Linked DNA regions of Homo sapiens: region 2 is linked to region 1. The links are contacts of gene promoters, found by promoter capture Hi-C in blood cells and fetal thymus (Javierre and others, 2016). All regions are on one chromosome and are shown on one strand. Each heading gives the region's core, a stretch centred on a gene start or on the middle of the fragment in contact. The rest is flanking DNA. Distances are from core to core; before and after follow the strand shown.

The links. The method cuts DNA at HindIII sites, captures the fragments that hold promoters and counts their contacts. A CHiCAGO score of 5 or more calls a contact.
Region 2: a fragment that was not itself captured here is called in contact with the fragment with the promoter of KRT75 in region 1 in 7 of 17 cell types (M1 macrophages, M2 macrophages, M0 macrophages and 4 more); the score reaches 10.1 in M1 macrophages.

Annotation. Positions count from the first base shown.
Region 1 is chr12:52,432,461-52,436,128 of GRCh38, forward strand. KRT75 (keratin 75) reads right to left here and starts at 1,911. Exons shown (of 9, transcript NM_004693.3): 1 at 1,347-1,911; 2 at 578-792. The coding sequence starts at 1,844. The HindIII fragment of the contact is 2,406 bases long and covers 46-2,451 here.
Region 2 is chr12:52,966,720-52,970,387 of GRCh38, forward strand. No RefSeq gene overlaps it. Among named protein-coding and RNA genes, the nearest start is that of KRT18, 19 kb to the left of the region's middle. The HindIII fragment of the contact is 7,174 bases long and covers 1-3,668 here.

The sequences.
Region 1 (3,668 bases), core at 661-3,160:
GGGTGGCCCCTGAGAAATATGCTTTTTGTAACTAGGGGTAGCTCAAGCTTAGAAATAAGGGCAAGCTGGCTAATGGGTTAGTCTGGACCAAATCCCTTTCCACTGGATACCTCACCTACTGCAGCCTGGATGATGTGCAGTCAAAAGTTTCCCCCCACAAGAAAAGTCAGATTGCCCTCCTTTAAACTCTTCCTTGTTACCTCTCTTCACTCTACAGTGAATGCCATCCTGGAAATGCAAACCATCTCAATAATTGAGCCCATGTCCAATGGAATTAAACAATATGCTGACTGTGAAATTACATTATGATTTCTAGAGTGAGTAGCAATATTTTGTCGGATGATGTTGATATCCCTTTGCAGTCATGTGAACAAATAGGAATAGGATCTTCATAGCAATACACAAGATGAAGGTCCTTGTGCTACCCCACACAGTGCTGTCTCCACCTTGCAGGATAAAGGCTGCAGTTCCAAAGCTCCCGGCTGATATCGGCATTTGCTCCTTTGCACCTCTCTGGTCCTCACACAAAGGAGCCTTCAGATGGCTGTGTGTGGCCAGAAGCCAGTCTCCCACTTACCTGACTTTGAAATCTTCCACAACATCCTGCATGTTCCTCAGTTCAGCTTCAAGCCTGCCCCTCTCGGTGGTGATGCTTTCCAGCTGCCGTCGGAGCTCACTGGTATAGGAATCAAAGAGGGGCTCTAGGTTCTGCCTCACAGTCCTGGAGCCCTGCTCCTGCAGGAGGGCCCACTTGGTCTCCAGGACCTTGTTCTGCTGCTCCAAGAACCTCACCTGGAGGGAAGAAGAGAGAATGAAACCTTGAGAAGTTGGAGAGGCAGAGTTAGACACTCCTATTAATAAGGGAGAGAAGAAAAAGATATTTTTTTCACTTGGCACCCATTGACAATAATGTAACTGACAACTCCAACCCAAAAGGAGGCAGTCCATGGAGCTACCGCAAAGTTCCCTAGGGCTTGCATAGGATTCGGGTGGTGGGGCCTAGAGGCTTCTGTTGGGGAGCTGCTCTTGGGTTAAGTTTCTCAACACCACCTACTCTGGGTTAGGGTAGTTTGCTGAGCAGCAACTCTCCTGTAGAGAATCAACAAAACTCTTCCCTTGGTGTTGACTGAACCAGCCCATGTGGCTCCGAAAGAGAGGAAATTTCTACCAGGTCCTGTGGGGCAAGCTGGCCTGACTTGGAAGGGTCTCAGCCCCTGGGAGCCCGTGCTGAACAGTGCTCATTCCCACAGTGGGGTCATTGCATTATTGCTCTCCCCCCATGGGATGGCCCTTCCAAGAGTTTATTTGATCCCAAACCCAAGGGGGTGGATGAAGCCCCTGCTTACCTTGTCGATGAAGGAGGCGAACTTATTGTTGAGGGTCTTGATCTGCTCGCGCTCCTCGGCCCGCACCCGCTGGATGGTGGGGTCGATTTGCAGGTGAAGAGGAGTCAGGAGACTCTGGTTGACAGTGACCTCTTGGATGCCTCCAGGGGGACACACGGGGAAGCTGGGGCCACTGAAGCCTCCTCCAACTCCACCCCCATAGCCAAATCCACTGTTGACTCCAAACCTGTTGCTGGCCCTGCCACCAAAGCCACTTCGGCAGCTGCTGCCACACCCATTGATGGAGACCCGCTTGGCACCCCCCAGGTTGTAGAGGCTGCGGCTTCCAAAGCTGGCCCCAGCACTGCTGATCCTTCCCAGGCCCCCACTCCCTGCTGCAGAGCGGGCCACAGAGACAGAGCTGAAGCGGGAGCGGCCAGCTGCCGGGGTGATGGCCGAGGTGGTGCTGAAGCCCCTGCGGCTGCCAGACTGGAAGGTGATGGAGGACTGCCGAGACATGGTGGGTGAGGAAGGCCGGCGAGAAGGCACCTGAGGTGGGCTGGTACAGGCAGTGGAGAAGACAGGTGGCTGGAGAGCCCTGGTCTCGTGGCTTTTATGAGCATCCTGTGGGGGCGGGGCACTGCTAGTGGAGAGGGCCTTCTGATGGCATTCCCTGGGCATCCGCCAACCCTGAGCTCACACTCGGCATCCCTCGGGAAATGGTGTAAGGGCCACTGGCTGGTTCCCTGGCACCCCCTCCCCACAACGTGCAAACTCCTTTCCAGTTGCAACTTGATCAGCATATGAGTAAGAAGCAAGTTAATTGCTTTCCGTCATGTGCTAATGATGCATCTTGTAAAGGACTCAGCAAACACTGCCTCATTTCTAAACCGCTTTCTTAGGCCTGGGACCAACTCCGTCCTGTCCAAACATCTTGTGTTAATACAAGCCACTACACTTCACTGTTTCCTTGGGGTGCTTCCTATTCCCTAAGCATTTTCTCAGCACCTACTGCCTGGTTCCCCAAGCCCCATCAAGCTGTCTTTCCAAACCTTGAAGGTCGCGCTCTGTAATCATCTTCCTTAGGAATCCACCCCATTTTGATTGCCCCTTTATTCTGCTCTTAAGCTTCCGTGTCTATTGTGTAGGTCACACATGGTTTTCTGGAGTGTATGTGTGCCTGTGCCCTGCCCACTGCAATATAATGTGACTCTCAAGGCCAGCCAGTGCTCTGTCTCCTGGGAAGAGAGGTTGTGAGAGGAGAAAGACTCGGGTTTGAATCTCAGACCTGCTCATAGTTGTGGGACCTTGAGCAAGCCATGAAACTTTTCTGTGCCTCAACTTTCATGTCTGTAAAATGGGGTTTGTAATGAATATTCACATGTGAAAACTTTCGCAATGCCCGGTATATGTAAGTGCTGAGTAAATGTCTATTGAGGCTCCCCTCTTTCTGATACAATCAAGTAATATTAAGGAAGTGCCAACCATGTCCATCCTGTGACTAGTCCTGTGGGAATTCAAAAGAAACACAATGCACATTATTTATCTTCAACAAGCTCATGGTCCTGTTGGGAAGATAAAACTGTACAAGATGGTGTACCATGAATCATCACCTCCAAGCTGCATTTGAGGCTGCCTATCCCAGAAGTCTCCCAGGCAGTTTCCTCCTCCTCCTGAGGACCAAGAATTCCTAGCTCTCCAGTCCTTCATCAAAAGAGCTCCAACAGCTGCACCTAGCAGAGGATTCGTTCCTTCCCTGTTTCTCCTGTTAACCTTGTAGACTGTGCCCTACATTCTATATTAGTCTACAAACCGCAAAGAAGACTTCAAGGCACCTCATCTCTCTGTTCTGCAACTCATTGCCCCATCTCTACCATGGGAAGAGTCAAACCAAAACATTGCTGAATCTTCTTTTTTTTTCTGCCTTGAGACAGGGTCTCACTCTGTCACCCAGGCTGGAGTGCAGCAGCTCAATCTCGGCTCACTGCAACCGCCACCTCCTGGGCTCAGGTGATCATCCCACCTCAGCTTCCTGAGTAGCTGGGACTACAGGCATGCTCCACCATGCCTCTCTAATTTTTTTACTATTTTGTAAAAACTGGGTGTCGACATTTTGCTCAGGCTAGTCTTGAACTCTTGAGCTCAAGTCATCCATCCTCTTTGGCCTCCCAAAGTACTGAGATTACGGGCTTAAGCCACCGCGCCTGGCCTGAATCTTCTTTTATCTTGCTGCCTGCTTTCTTCTTGCTGTGGTTTTGAAGCCTGGGAGAGTAAGAGAGGAATTAATCAGCATTCAGTCTCCATTTCGTGGATGAGGGCATTGAGCCCAGAATGGTTAACTAG
Region 2 (3,668 bases), core at 593-3,092, 530 kb after region 1:
AAATACACCTCCCAGCGCGGTGGCTCACGCCTGTAATCCCAACACTTTGGGAGGCTGAGGCGGGCGGATCACGAGGTCACGAGTTCAAGACCAGCCTGGCCAATATGGTGAAACCCTGTCTCTACTAAAAATACAAAAAAAAAAAAAAAATAGCCAGGCGTGGTGGCATGCGCCTGTATTCCCAGCTACTTGGGAGGTTGAGGCAGAAGAATTGCTTGAACCTGGGAGGCGGAGTTTGCAGTGAGCTGAAATCTTGCCATTGCACTCCAGCCTTGGGCAACAGAGCAAGACTCTGTCTCAAAAAAAATAGTAATAAAAATAAAAATATACTTACCAGCTCGGTGTGGTGGCTCACACCTCTGATCCCAGCACTTTGGGAGGCCGAGGTGGGTGGATCACCTGAGGTCAAGAGTTCGAGACCAGCCTGACCAACATAGAGAAACCCCGTCTCTACTAAAAATACAAAATTAGCCAGGCGTGGTGGTGCATGCCTGTAATCCTAGCTACTTGGGAGGCTGAGGCAAAAGAATCACCTGAACCCGGGAGGCGGAGGTTGCAGTGAGCCAAGTTTGTGCCATTGCACTCCAGCCTGGGTGACAAGAGTGAAACTCCATTCTCAAAAAAATAAATAAATAAAATAAAATAAATAAACAGATGGTTCAAGTTTGGCCTCTCCCAGTAGGAATCCTCTTTGTGGCCTTCCTAACATCTGGCCTCCGTTTGAAGAATTTATGACAGTATAGCCCCTGTTGGATAATAATTGTATAATTACTGGAACATTATTGTTCCTTCTACTGGGCTGAAATCTGCCTCCTACTAACCTTCTAAACTCAGCTCTGCCCACTAGAGTTACACAGAACTCCCTCTTCCATTAGATTTCAGCCATAAGTGATTATTCTTCCCCTAACCTGTATAAAAGCAGCCCCAGTCACGGTGTAAGGATTTAGCTGCACTGCTGGCCTCAACCTCACCTGCCTGAATGAGCTGGAAAATAATTATCTACACAGAAACAGCCCAAGGAATTAGAATGATAGTGATGCTCAGATCCGGGGAGGCTGTGTCCCCCTGAAGGCCCTGGTCAGATCCTGGTGAAGTGGATGGTGCTGCCACAGGAGGGATGTAGGGTAAACTTCTCAGAGACTCAGGGCACTCCAGTGATCTGGGCCCAAAGCACACAGTTCCTTTTCCTCTCCCCACAATCCACACTGGAGCAGCAGGCTCTAGTGGGCCCCTCCCAGGCTGGCAGAACTTTCCCTATCACCCACTCCCCAGAAGCAAAAAAAGTTTAAAAAGCACCAGCCTAAGGCTGGGTGCAGTGGCTCATGCCTGTAATCCCAGCACTTTGGAAGGCTGAGGCGGGCAGATCACAAGGACAGGAGTTCAAGACGTGCCTGACCAACATGGTAAAACCCCGTCTCTACTAAAAATACAAAAATTAGCCAGGCATGGTGGTGCATGCCTGTAATCCCAGCTACTCGGGAGGCTGAGGCAGGGGAATTGCTTGAACCCGAGAGGCAGAGGTTGCAGTGAGCCAAGATCATGCCATTGCACTCCAGCCTGGGCAATGGAGCAAGACTCCGTCTCAAAAAAAATAAATTATTGTACATTTAAAAATAACTAAAAGAGTATAATTGGATTGTTTGTAACATAAAGGATAAATGCTTGAAGTGATGGATGCCCTGATGAGATTATTATGCATTGTATGCCTGTATCAAAATATCTCGTGTACCCTAAAATAGATACACATACTGGGTACCCACAAAAATTAAAAACTTTTTTTTTTTTGAGACAGAGTTTCACTCTTGTTGCCCAGGCTGGAGTGCACTGGCTCAATCTCGGCTCACTGCAACCTCCGCCTCCCAGGTTCAAGTGATTCTCCTGCCTCAGTCTTCCGAGTAGTTGGGATTACAGGCGCCCACCACCACACCTGGCTAATTTTTTTTTTTTTTTTTTTTTTTTGGATTTGGAGTAGAGACGGGGTTTCGCCATGTTGGCCAGACTGGTCTCGAACTCCTAACCTCAGGTGATCCACCTGCCTCGGCCTCCCAAAGCGCTGGGATTACAGGCATGAGCCACCAGACTCAGCCAAAATTAAAAACTTTAAAAAATAAATTAATAACCACAGCAGTAGCTAGTAGCTAATGGCTACCAGATTGGACAGGACAGTGCAGCACCAGACTGTAAGCTCCCTTTGAGCAGAGACTGGACTATCTTGTTCACTCTTATGCCCTGATACATAACACAATTCCAACACATAAACAGCAGGTTGTTATTTTCTTTTTTAAAGACAAAAATTTGAAATTGTAATTTTTATTAAATTGTAAATAAAATGTTATTTTATTTTATTTAATAACCTATAGCATTTGCCAATATCCAAGGTATAAATACTGCTGTCATGGTTGATTTAAAATGGTTTAATTCTGGGAAGCAAAATTTTCAAATTTAACAATCTTCTCTTACTAGCTTTTGAATGAATAAGCAAATGAATGAACAAATAAATGAGCAAATAACAAACCAAGAGGAGTCTCTGCATGCCTCACCCAAGGAAAAGAGGACAAAGGAGAGTAGAAGAATATTTCAAGATGCCAGCAGTCCTCTCACTCTCTTTGCAGGTCCTCTTTGTTCCAGGAAAGAGAACTTAGTGGGAGAACAATTGAACTTCCTCAGCTTCGCTTCACACACACCCCAGCTTTAAGAAAGCCCAGGAAGAATTTGTTTTTTTTTTTTTTTTTGAGACGGAGTCTTACTCTGTCACCCAGGCTGGAGTGTAGTGGCGTGGTCTCGGCTTCTCAGCTCACTGCAACCTCCACCTCCCAGATTCAAGCGATTCTCCCGCCTCAGCCTCTCCAGTAGCTGGGATTACAGGTGTGCACCACCACGCCCAGCTAATTTTCGTATTTTTAGTAGAGACAAGGATTTCACCACGTTGGCCAAGCTGGTCTCAAACGCCTGACCTCAAATGATCCACCTACCTCGGCCTCCCAAAGTTCTGGGATTACAGACATGAGCCACCTCACCTAGCCTTTGGATTACAGACATGAGCCACCTCGCCTAGCCTTTTTTTCTTTTTAAGGAAAAAAAGAAAAATAAAATCTCATCTTAATCTGCTCCATTTTTTTTTCTTTTTAAAGAAACTTTCCCAAGTCACTTAAACAGTCTTCGTAATGGGAAGGCACTCAAACTATAAATCTCCCTGTCATTTAGGAATGCTCAGTGCAAATGTTTATAGAACCCGGGCACCACTTTCAACCTCTCCTTTGAAGAAGGGCTTTGTAATCCTCCTCTGGGGTCACTCCTACATTCCAAAAATGTTCAGGAAAGGAAGGGAAGGTGCCCACCAGTGGGACAGCTTAGACCCAGGTCCCCACCCTCAGGTTCGGCCCTAAGAACATAAAGATACAAGAAAGGTCACGAGGTTAATTCAAAGCCAAGGAATGTCATGGCAGTAAATGCTGCAGGTGTTCACGGGGAGGATGATGGCCATGATTTGTGGCAGAAGTGAAACCTGAGAGATGCTAAGACTTGTGCAGTGGGAAAGGTGAGAAAATAATGAGAACAAAGTCCCCAAGGCTTGGCTGCATGCCTGGCAGCTAGTAGGTACTGCATAAATACAAGTTCATTGGCTCTCCTTGAGTTGTCTGGCTGGGGTCCCAGAGACTGAAACTTTG